Regions from separate parts of the Homo sapiens genome. Here region 2 is linked to region 1. Evidence: promoter capture Hi-C in human tissues and cell types (Jung and others, 2019). All regions are on one chromosome and are shown on one strand. The core of a region is centred on a gene start or on the middle of the fragment in contact, and the rest is flanking DNA. Distances in the headings are between cores, read along the strand shown.

The links. Contacts are between HindIII fragments. The study calls those that stand out against the background at their distance.
Region 2: a contact is called between a fragment that was not itself captured here and the fragment with the promoter of NHLRC1 in region 1, in 2 of the 25 tissues and cell types used here (IMR-90 fibroblasts and aorta).

What each region holds. Positions count from the first base shown.
Region 1 is chr6:18,121,427-18,127,938 of GRCh38, forward strand. It overlaps NHLRC1 (NHL repeat containing E3 ubiquitin protein ligase 1), which reads right to left and starts at 1,251. Exons shown (of 1, transcript NM_198586.3): 1 at 1-1,251. The coding sequence starts at 1,180. The HindIII fragment of the contact is 9,942 bases long and covers 210-6,512 here.
Region 2 is chr6:18,063,704-18,070,004 of GRCh38, forward strand. No RefSeq gene overlaps it. Among named protein-coding and RNA genes, the nearest start is that of NHLRC1, 56 kb to the right of the region's middle. The HindIII fragment of the contact is 4,089 bases long and covers 1,545-5,633 here.

The sequences.
Region 1 (6,512 bases), core at 1-2,500:
AGTCAACTTTATAGACTTTTATAGAATGAGATGCTGTGTCCAGCACAAGAAGAGAATTCTCCTTGGTGAAGGTAAGAGCCACAGGATGCGAAAGACCATGAGTGACCATGGGCTTCGGTACTGGAAACTCCTCAGGTTTTCCTAAGCAAAGGATAGCTGGACCAGATGTATCTGCAACAATCACATTTCCCTGGTGATCAAAGGTCACAGCGGAGGCAGTTATTTTGGAGGGAAAGTAGAGGCTCAGCCCAAAGGTATCCACTTGGCCGACAAGCTGCATACTTGAGCTAAACACTTTCACCCTGGTGCTGCAAACCCCAGTCCCCAGGGCCAGGGGGTGCTCCAGGACCGCAATGGCCCCGGTGAGCCAAGACACTGCCACCCCTCGGGGATTGCACAGATGAGCTTGCAACCTTTCAGTTCTCCGAAGGACCCCTTCCGCGAAGTCGACGTCCAGGAGGTGCAGGGACCCTGCCTCCGCATCAGTTACCACAATCCCATTCTGAGGGGTGGTCTCCACACCCCAAGGTAAGGAGAATTGGCCTCCAATGACAAGCTTGATCTGGCCAAAAAAATCAAACACTTTGATGGAGCGATCGCCGGCGTCAGTGACAACCACATGGCAGTCGTTGGTGATGGTGACATCCACAGGGTACCTAATGTCTTGGGCAGCGTCCCCCTTCTCTCCAAACTGATGCGCGCATCCTCCCCCTGAGTCAAAAATCTTGACACGCCTCCTGCCGTCGTGCACCACCACGACACGCCCCGTCTTGGGACAAAGCGCCAGTCCGGTGGGGTTGACCAGGGTCCCCCAGCCGCCGAAGGTGTGGTGGCAGGTGAGGGCTCCGGGGGCGCTGGGGGCGGCGCGATGGGCGGCCGGGGACTGGCGAAGCGCTGAGCCCAGGAGCTCTATGAGGTGCAGCACCGGCAGGCAGTCGCTGGTGTCGCAGCCCCGGCAAGCTCGCCTGCAGAATGGGCACTCGAGGGCCAGAGTGCGCGGGTGCGCCAGGGCGGCCACGCAGGCCAGGCAGACCACGTGGCCGCAGGACAGGTTGCGCGGGCGCCGCTGCTGCCGGTGGCCAAACTTCTCAAAGCACACCTTGCACTCGAGCAGGCTGATCTCCGCCTCGCGCATGAGCTCATGCAGCGCTGGCCCGCTCTCCGAGGCTTCGGCCGCCATGGCGCGTCCTGTGCACTCCCGCCGCGCCGCCTGGCCGTGCCCCAGCGACGCTCTCGGTCACGGTCACAGTCATGGTCACGGGGTGGGACGTGCGCCCTGACGTCGAGCGCCGCGGGCCTCTGCACTGCGATCTGCTGCCCCTTGGTGGGCACGCGCGGCACTGTTTCCTGAGGGCCTGATGGTGGACGTTTGCAAGACAAATCCACATGCGCGTTGTGTAGACCTGTAATCGTCACAGCAGTCATGGATGGATTGTGTACACTTTCAGATGAGGAAACACACCTATTGAGGACAACAGGATTGCTCCCTGTCACCCAGCCTGTAAGCGGCAAAACAAGAACTAGAACCCAATCTTCCAGCCCGGGTGCCTAGCAGTGTCTCCAATCCGCAGCGCCGGGTGCTACGGCTGTCCGGGCATAAAACATGGTCCCTTAGCTCATGATGCTTATGATCTGAACCGGAAAACACGAACACACTAGAGAAGATAAACTCCAAGGGAGGTGAGGCAGATGTGTACATTTCTTTTGTGTCTTCTGTCATACTCATAGTTAAGTCAATGTTAGATGAATACATACTTGTAAAATGAATTTGTGCATGAATGAATGTTATAGAACAACAACAACAACAAAAAAAAATCAACGAGGTGAATGAGTGTCAGATGGGGCAACCATGCTGGAAGTGTCTTGCAGAGTAATTAATATGAAATAAGAAAGCTGTTAGTTAATAATAATTACCATAGAACTTCATTTTTTTGTTTTTTAAGACAAAGTCTCACTCTGTCACCCAGGCTGGAGTGCAGGGGCACGATCACAGCTCACTGCAGCCTCCATCTCCCAGGCTCAAGCAATCCTCCCACTTCAGTAGCTGGGACTACAGGCATGCACCATCACACTAGGCTAATTTTTTAATTTTTTTGTAGAGAGGAGGTCTCACTATGTTGCCTAGGCTGGTCTTGAACTTGTGAAAATTGTTCACATTCCTCCCCACCCCTTGGCCTCCCAAAGTGCTGGTGTGAGCCACTGTGCCCAGCCTATGGAATTCACATATGCCTGCCCCATTGTGTTAGGTTGGTGAAAAGGATTCGCAGTGTTTGCCATCACTTTTAATGGCAAAACCGTGATTACTTTTGCAGCAAATTAATAAATAATTTACATAGATTATCTTGTTTAAACCTCATAGCAATCCTACAAAAATATGTTATTTTTATTGTCTTTTTTTCTGATAGAATTCATAGAAATCAAATATCTTGCCCAGGGTCACATGGCTAGGAAGTGGCTGGCCTGGAATTTGAAGCCAGGCAGTTTGACTTCAGAGTTACCTATTTTAGTCATTTTCAAACTTCTTTGCACATGGTAAACACCTGGGTCGCACCCGAAAAGTTTAATTGGCCCATGGTGTGGTCTGGACAGCTGGGATTTATAAAAGCTCCCCAGGTGATTATAATGTACAGCCAAGTTTGAGAAACACTGCATTATAATAATTCCCTCAAATGACACTAAGTTCAGTTTTTCCAATCTCAGTTAAGACCAAAAACAAAGAGAATTTGCCATATGTTGGAAAATCTTCAAACAAGGGATAGCATAATCTGTGTGAAGAATCCATTGTGGTATTATAATCTCTCATTTTTCTTTTTCTTTCTTTTTTTTTTTTTTCTTTTTGAGACAGAGTCTTGCTCTGTCACCAGGCTGGAGTGCAGTGGCGCGATCTCGGCTCACTGCAGCCTCCACCTCCTGGGTTCAGGCGGTTCTCCCACCTCAGCCTCCTGAGTAGCTGGGATTACAGGCACCCGTGACCATGCCTGGCTAAGTTTTGTATTTTTAGTAGAGATGAGGTTTCACCATGTTGGCCAGGCTGGTCTCAAACTTCTGACCTTTCGCGTCAGCCTCCCAAAGTGCTAGGATTACAGGCATGAGCCACCGTGCCTGGCCCTAAACTCTTATTTTTAAGGGGTTCTCCCTCAAATGTCTTATGTGAACATTGTGCTTAACAAAACCTTGTATTAGAGAATTTCTTTTCCTTTAGAGATCATAATCATGAACATTCACCTTCTGATTTGCTAGATTTCTGAGAAAACACAATATTTTATCCCCTGTTGAGGCCCCTGGAAAGAGCTTTAATGTAAGACAAGAAAGAACATTTTCTAATCAAATGTCATTTGACTCAAAGATTGCGTACTGGGACACAATAACCAACTTAATAATTTCTGACTACATTTCCATCCCAAATAAACAACCAACTAAAATCACATTATTTATGCAATCACACCATTGCATAATTGATTAATAACAAATATGTCTTGAATCTCACTCTGACATTTGGCATTTCCTATGACTATCATTTCCTCCTCCATGGCTGGGCCTCCATGGATTTACCCTGTGCTTCCCTCCGATATTCCTTCTATAGAGGGTCCTGGACTAGCATGCCCATCTTTTCCTGCTTCCACCTAGAACAAGCCCTGAGAGTTGTGGGGGCAAAGGGCTTGAAGAGCAGAACGTCTAGTTTCCAAAGTGGTCAATGGCTGCCCTATGAAAAAGTACCATACTATAGTGGAAGGAGAGTGGGGACCCAGCTCAGGATGGTTCCAGCAGAGAAGAGAGCACAGGGGGAGCATGAGTTAGGGGGAGTCAGTGCTTAGACAGGTGGGCTCCTGGTTGTGCAGGTGGGGCAAATGTGCCAGACACATGCAGTTTAGAAGGAATCCCAGAACAAGTTTAATGATCCAATTACAACTCAGACTACCTGACAATGATGTAAGGGAAAGGAAGATGAACAAGCCACACAGAATGGGCTTTGCTTCCAGCCTTGCCCTCCTCCCAGGGGCGTCTCTGACCACCACTCTAATTTTTAAGCTCCATGTTCTTGGCATCTCAGGGGTGAGGGATGTGGTGGCAAGAGGAAGAATGGCTGTTTTTGAATTTTTTGAGTAAGTCCATACAAAAATGAGTGGAGATGTATGTTTGGAAATGGGGATCTAGAGATTTGAGTGCATCTCAAGTTCAATGCAATTGAGTGTTCCTCAGGGTGCCACCTTCAGTCTTTTTCTCTTAGCTTCCTACCTGTTTCCCTGAGCAATGCCATCTTCACTTCCTCGTGGTTTAAATGACCAGTTATAAGCTGACAGCTCCCTGCCTGTACCCCTAAGACAGCCATACCATATGAAGTTCAATGTTCAGTCCCTACCCCTACAACCTGTGATGCCTGAGAAAAGGATTATCTTCAATAATCAATAAACCTTTATCTGCTAGCACACCCAATAGTACTTAAATTGCTGAATGAATGCTGACTCTAATAGCAGGAGAAAGACTAAATAATAATTGTACTGCCACATTACAACATTATACAGCTATTTAAAAATCTTGCTTTTGAAAAATATTTAGTGACACTGTTACCAGTAGAAGGTTTGACTACAAGTTGTCCAGGTTCTTGGCTTTTTGAACAAAGAATTGGACAAAATGCACAGCAAAGCAGAGAAAGAATGAAGTAACAAAAGCAGAGATTTATTGAAAATGAAAGTGCTCCACAGGGTGGGACCTGGCTGAGCAGTGGCTCAAGGGCCCTGGTTACAGAATCTTCTGGGGTCCAAATACTGCCTAGAGGTTTCCCACTGGCCACTTGGTATTCATCCCATGCAAATAAAGTAGTGGCCCGCAATCAGTCTGATTGGTTGCTTTTGCTTGCTGCAACCAATGAGAGGCCGAAGTGAAGTTACAAAAGTTACACTCCTATGCAAACGTTTGATTGGTTGCAGATGTTTCTGCCACGCAGAAAAGGCTAGGGGCGGTGGGGTGGTGGAGGTTACAAAGGGAGTAGCCTCTGGTCCTTTTGTTACTTAGGCATGGAAAGTTGAGGTTTTCCTTTCAATTTAGTTCTAGGAAGTCAGCATGAATCAGCCTTAGGTTCCCTGCCTCAAGACCCTATTCTCCTGCCTCAACTCCAGGAAGGGTGAATGAAATAGAAAGAAAGATAGTGGAGATACAATACTGTATCGTAATGTGATCACAACAACCTTGTGAAAACATTCACATGTATGAGCAGACAAAAAAGATGAGAAGAAAATACATCACCATCATAGCAGTAATTATCTCCAGTGATAGGACTTGATTGCTTTTCTTTTTCTTTTTAGACTTCCCAAATTTTCAATGCATAAAGGATTATTTGTCATATTTAAATATAAATAACTTAATATTTTATGATATATTTCATTTCTAAATATCTGCCTCGATTATCCTCCTGTTGTCGAAAGTTAACACCAATAGTGAAATAAATTTCTATTAATACCCACTGTTCAGGAATCACAGATTTTCAAGCATATTTTCAGCTCACAAATTACAGCTACACATAAGTAATAAATCTGGGACATGACTATTTTCTGCAAATCGGAATGACTATGCTTAAGGCACATAAATAGAATTCTGTCCAATTCCCACCAGCCACTGGTGAATTTGTCATATAATGTTTTATAAGGCAAAAAGCACATCACATAAGAAGTGATTGGAAAGTCAGAGCTGTAGGGATTAAAGATGATAATTTTTAATTTTAATTTTGTTGTTGTTGTTTTTGTTTTGAGACAGTTTTGCTCGTTGCCCAGGCTGGAGTGCAATGGCTTGATCTCGGCTCACCACAACCTCCACCTCCTGGGTTCAAGCAATTCTCCTGACTCAGCCTCCCGAGTAGCTGGGATTACAGACATGTGCCAACCATGCCCGGCTAATTTTTTGTATTTTTAGTAAAGACAGGGTTTCACCGTGTTGGCCAGGCTGGTCTCGAATGCCCGACCTCAGGTGATCCGCCCACCTCGGCCTCCCAGAGTGCTGGGGTTACAGGCATGAGCCACTGTGCCCGGCCAATAACTGATTTTTTAAAAAGCACTCAGTAGAAATCTTTCTCTGAAACACCTTTCAGAAAGAGTAGGTGTAGGCTGAGCAGCTCTTTGGGAGGCTGAGGTGGGGGGATCACTTGAGGCCAGGAGTTTGAGATCGTGCTGGGCAACATAGTGAGACCTTGTCTCTACTAAAAATAAAAAAAAAAATTAGCTGGGTGTGGTGGCACACACCTGCAGTCCTGTCTACTCAGGAGGCTGAGGCAGAAGGATTGCTTAAGCCTAGGAAATTGAGGCCGCAGTGAGCTATAATCACACCACCGTACTCCAGCCTGGGCGACAGAGTGAGACCCTGTCTCAAAATAAAAAAAAAAAATAAGGAGTAGGTGCGACATAAACATATACATGTATACACAAACACACATTGAAATTGCTCCCTTGTATTAAAATAAAACAATGACAGGTATGTACTACAGTTGCGACTTGGTAAATTGCTTGAACTAATATCTCCAT
Region 2 (6,301 bases), core at 2,339-4,838, 55 kb before region 1:
GCTCATGTTGCCCAGGCTGGAGTGCAGTGGCACAATCTCGGCTCACCGCAACCTCAACCTCCCAGGTTCAAGCAATTCTCCTACTCAGCTTCCCAAGTAGCTGGGATTACAGGCATGTGCCACCATGCCCAGCTAATTTTGTATTTTTAGTAGAGACGGGGTTTCTCCATGTTGGTCAGGCTGGTCTTGAACTCCCGACCTCAGGTGATCCGCACCCCCCCCCCCACCCCTTGGCCTCCTAAAGTGCTGGGATTACAGGCATGAGCCACCACGTGCGGCCTGTAGACCTTTATTAATTTACTTTGCATTTTGTTTTAACAGTATAATTTACATATTGAAGTATAATTTGCATACAGTAATATTGTGTACAATTCAGTAATTTTTAGTAAATGTACAGAGTTGTACAACTGTCACCATAATCCAACTTTAGAACATTTCCATCTTGTCAAAAAGAAACTTCATGCCCATTTACACTCAGTCCTTGGTCCAAGCCCCAGCCCCAGGCAACCACTAATCTACCTTCTGTCTCTATAGATTGGCCTATACATCTTCCATTTTATTAGTAAAGTTAGCTTGTTTTTAACAAAGTCATCCAATTTTAATTATATAATTCTTTCAGTCCTATCCAAATGAAATTGAGCAAGTTTAAATAAAGATGGCTGTTGTGAGAGATACAGACATTTGTGGGATGTGTGTGTGTGTGTGTGTGTGTGTTTGCATGTGTGTGTGTTTGCAGATGATGCAAATCTTTTAAAGACTGTGGCATGTTTGCCTCCATTATTTTATGTATTTCTAATTTTCTTTTTGAGATATACTTCATGTAACATAAAATTCACCCTTTTAAATTTGGTGTTTATGCAACTATCAACACTATCTAATTCCAAAACATTTTCATCACCACAAAAAGAAATCCCATCCACACCAGGCCTAGTGGCTCATGCCTATAATCTCAGCCCTTTGGGATGCTGAGGCAGGAGGATCGCTTGAACCCAGGAATTCAAGACCAGCCTGGGCAATATCATGAAATCCTGACTCTACAAAAAAATACCAAAAAAATAGCCTGGTGTGGTAGTGGGCTTCTGTAGTCCCAGCCTCTTGGGAGGCTGTAATAGTCTCTTTTCATGCTGCTGATAAAAACATACCTGAGACTGGGAAGAAAAAGAAGTTTAATTGGACTTACAGTTTCACATGGCTTGGGAGGTCTCAGAATCATGGCAGGGGGCGAAGGCACTTCTCACATGGCGGTGGCAAGAGAAAATGAGGAAGAAGCAAAAGCAGAAACTCCTGATAAACCCATCAGATCTCATGAGACTTATTCACTATCATGAGAATAGCACAGGAAAGACTGGCCCCCATGATTCAATTACCTCTCCCTGGGTCCCTCCCACAACACGTGGGAATTCTGGGAGATACAATTCAAGCTGAGATTTGGGTGGGGACACAGCCAAACCATATCAGAAGCTGAAGTGGGAGGATCACTTGAGCCTGGGAGTTCGAGACTGCAGTGAGACAAGATCACACCACTGCACTCCAGCCTGGGCAACAGAGTGAGACTCTGTCTCAAAAAAAAAAAACCAAAAAGAAATTCCACTCCCATTATCAGTCACTCCCCATTCCCCTCCCCCACCCAGCCCTTGGGAACCACTGCTAAACCAGGGGTCCCCAACCCTGGGGCCGTGGACCAGTACCAGTTGGTGGCCTGTTAGGAACTGGGCCACACAGCAGGAGGTGAGTGGTGGGTCAGCGAGCATTACCGCCTGAGCTCCGCCTCCTGTCAGATCAGTGGAGGCATTAGATTCTCATAGGAGCCGGAACCCTATTGTGAACTGTGCATGCAGGCATCTAGGTTGCGTGCTCCTTATGAAAATCTGATGCCTGATGATCTAAAGTAAAACAGTTTCATCCTGAAACCATCCCCTCACCGCTCCCCGCTACCTCCCAACGGGTCCATGGAAAAATTGTCTTCCACAAAACCGGTCCCTGGTGCCAAAAAGGTTGGGGACCACTGTGCTAAACTACTTTGTGTCTCTATGGATTTGCCTGTTCTGGACATTTTGTATAAACAGAATCACACGGTAGGTGGCCTTCTGTGTCTGGCTTCTTTCACTTAGCACAACAATATTTTCAAGGCTCATTCATGTTTTAGCCTGTGTCAGTACTTTATTCTTTTGTTTGTTTCATAAAACAAACACAAAACAGTCTCACTGTGTCACTCAGGCTGGAGTGCAGTGGTGCGATCTTGGCTCACTGCAGCCTTCACTTCCTGGGTTCAAGAGATTCTTGTGCCTCAGCCTCCTGAGTAGCTGGGATTACAGGCACGTGCCACCAGGCCTGGATAATTTTTGTATTTTTAGTAGAGGCAGGGTTTCACTGTGTTGGTCAGGCTGGTCTTGAACTCCTGACTTCAGGTGATCCACCTGCCTCGGCCTCCCAAAGTGCTGAGATTACAGGTGTGAGCCACTGCACCGGGCCAGTGCTTCATTCCTTTTTATGCCAAATAACATTCTATTTTATGAATATGTCACATTTTGTTTATTCACTAATCTGTTGATGGACATTGAGGTTGTTTCTACTTTACTTAATAATATTTTAGTTAATATAACTTAACTAGTGGAAAGGGGAGAAAATTATTACTGGGGTGGTATGATATTATATGTATGTTGGTTTTTGTCCACAATTCCTGGCTCATAACTCCCATAGCCCTTGTTAATTTCCTAAGTGACTAAAATAGTAAGCATATCTTTCCTTAACATATTGTTCCTTAACATATTGTTCCTTAACATATCTTTTGTCCTTGATTCCTGAAGCAGCTTCCGAATGGCTCCAGAGCAATAAAGGTGAGACAATCTTTTGTTATAATATTGGGGCATTTTAGGCCTTAGAAAACAGAATCTCACTCTCTGACCTCCTGCCCCCCTTTTATCTTCTTTTTCTCCTCCATGCAGGCTACAGAAACTAAAAATATATTCTAATCTTCTGACTTGAAATTCTCTGAACTGCCTTCCTTGTCTGATTTTAGGTTGTAAGACCCCCAGTCCGAAGGGGTCCTGTCCCATACTCGGGAAGAAGGAACGCTGCATAGACAGGCCAGGAAGAATCTCGGCCTTACCGGGTTTCCCCACTCAATCTATAAGCATTAGATCATACTCTTTTTGTCCAATCACAGTTCTCCTTGGTTGTCAATCATACCTATCCAATAAAATCTCCATAAAAGGCCCAAGAGGATAAGGTATGGGAAACTTTTGCACAGCTGAAGTTCTGGAGGCTTGCAAGAAAATGAACAAGAATTCATCCGCCTGCCGGGAGGGTGGCGCATCCCTCTCCACGGGAACTGAGGCTCCTGCAGTCAGGACCCTTTCAGACCTCACCCTATGTATCTCTTCATCTGGCTATTTATTTGTATCTTTTAAAATAGCCTTTAAAATAAATCAGTAAACCTAAGTGTTTCCCTGAGTTTTGTGAGCCACTTTTAGCAAATTAATCGCGCATAAAGTGGTGGTCACCCAACTTGAAGTGGATTGGTCAGAAGTTCAACAGGCTTGGGCTTGCAACTGGCGTCTAAAGGAAAGGCGATCTTGTGGGACTGAGCCCTCAGTCTGTGGGATCTGACACTATCTCCAGGTGGATAGCGTCAGAATTGAATTGGAGAACACCCAGCTAGTGTCTGCGGCAGAACTGATTGCTTCCTGTTAGTGGGGAAAAAATCCCCACACATTTGGTCACAGACATCTTCAGTGTTGATTTTTGTGGTGTGAGAGCACACGTAGTGTATCTGCACTTCTCTAATAATCTCAAGAATACATTGGCCGGGCGCAGTGGCTCACGCCTGTAATCCCAGCACTTTGGGAGGCTGAGGCGGGCGGATCACAAGGTCAGGAGATTGAGACCATCCTGGCTAACACGGTGAAACCCCGTCTCTACTAAAAATACAAAAAATTAGCTGGGCGCGGTGGCGGGCGCCTGTAGTCCCAGCTACTCAGGAGGCTGAGGCAGGAGAATGGCGTGAACCCGGGAGGCGGAGTTTGCAGTGAGCTGAGATCGCGCCACTGCACTCCAGCCTGGGCGATACAGTGAGACACTCCGTCTCAAAAAAAAAAAAAAAAAAAAAAAAAAAAAAAAAAAAAAAAAAAGAATACATTAACTGAAATTTATAGTAGAGAACACAATGATATCATAAAGAAAAATAAAACAGAAAAGATATTAACATAAGAGCTAAGCTTTTTTTTTTTTTTTTTTTTTTTTTTTGAGACGGAATCTCGCTCTGTCACCCAGGCAGGGGTGCAGTGGCACAATCTCGGCTGAGCTCACTGCAACCTCCGCCTCCTGGGTTCAATCGAGTCTTGTGCTTCAGCCTCCTGAGTAGCTGGGATTACAGGCGCACAGCACCGAGTCTGGCTGATTTTGTATTTTTAGTGGAGACGGGGTTTTACCACGTTGGCCAGGCTGGTCTCGAACTCCTGACCTTAAGTGATCCGCCCACCTCGGCCTCCCAAAGTGCTGGGCTTACAGACGTGAGCCACCCCACCTGGCCGAGCTAAGCTTCTTTTAAGGCTCTGATTGACATGAAATAACATCTAAGCCCAAATTTCTGTTTATTCAAACTGGAATGAGCAATATGCTCAAAAATTGTTATGAAAACTGAAAAATAACAGAAATTAGAGCTGTATTCTAAGGGTAAAAACACACTTAGAGTAATATTCTGCCAACAAAGAAGCAGTGTATGTGGAGTGGGTGGGAAGTGACAGAGGTGGGCATGTGGATCCTTCTGTTGCTAATAATAAAAATTCCTAGAGCACCGAGTCTCCACATGGCAATGTGATTGAGAAGAACCATATATTACTCCTTTCATTTCCACTCTTTGAGGGAGCCTCTTTGTTCCGAATTTCAGCTGTCCCTCAAAGAGCATGCAGGGCCTTCAGTTGATACAAGGAGGAGCTCATGAAGCCAATTAATTTTTTGTTCCTTCTCACAGTGACAAACTATAATCCTCAACCATTTGTGTTGCAAATATGGGTCATGGTGAGAAACTATGGGCAGTGTGATCTTCAGACTGGCTGTGCATTTACACATTCATGTACACACACACACTCATGCACAAATTCAACTTTCTCAGCTCCAGTCCCACCACAGGACAGCCTATATTTATTAGGTGTCCCAAGTGATTGTGACGTAGCTGATCTATTTTTTTTTTTTTTTGAGACAGAGTCTTGTACCCAGGCTGGAGTGCAGTGGCATGATCTCAGCTCACTGCAACCTCTGCCTCCTGGGTTCAAGCAATTCTCCTGCCTCAGCCTCCCGAGTAGCTGGGATTACAGGCATGCACCACCACACCCAGCTGATTTTTGTGTTTTTAGTAGAGACAGGGTTTCACTTTGTTGGTCAGGCTGGTCTCAAACTCCTGACCTCAGGTGATCCACTCACCTTGGCCTCCCAAAATTCTGGGATTACAGGCATGAGCCACTGCACCTGGCCTGAACTGAATTGTGGTTTTGACTTTTTTTTTTTTTTTTTTTTTTTTTTGAGATAGGGTCTTACTCGGTCATCCAGGCTGGAGTGCAGTGGTGCAATCATAGCTCACTGCAACATTGAACTTCTAGGCTCAAGCGATCCTCCTTCCCCAGCCTGCTGAGTAGCTGGGACTATAGGCACATCACCATGCCTGGCTAATTTTTGTATTTTTGGTGGAGTTGGAATCTCACTATGTTGCTCAGGCTGGTCTTGAGCTCCTGGGCTCAAGTGATCCTCCTGCCTCAGCCTCCCAAAGACTCTTTGAAACTAGAGTAAATTGGAATTTTCCCTGCCTCATTTTCCAATAGATTGGCATTTCTCCCATTGTTTAGCCTATAACCTCCACTCACCTCTGGTTTTCTGCTATTTGTCATGAGCTCCTACGGAAGTGCTAAGGGAAGGCAAGGAAGAGGAGGGTATTTGGGAAGGGGAAGGGCAGGGACAGGCCTGCAATCTGTCACCCAGCGAGGCAGCATGGAGGTATGCTACCCAGGTCTCGCTTCAGGAGAACAGGTTGTGGGGAGGGCAGGTGACTGACAGCCCCCAGCCCTCGGGTGTGTTGCAGTGTTCATGCCTGGAACACATCCCCTGAGCTGCTCCCAACCAATGACTGAGCTTGCAGGGGTGCTAGGCCAGATGCTGAAGAACTTGGATTCTCCAGACAGTTGGAGCTGAGCCTGAGCTCAGCTCTTCCCCACCTTCCTGTCTTTTCTCACTCCACAGATGTCACACCTCATTGCAGTCTGAGACTCTACTTTCTCTTATTTCCTCTCCCTTTTTTCCCTCACAGGAA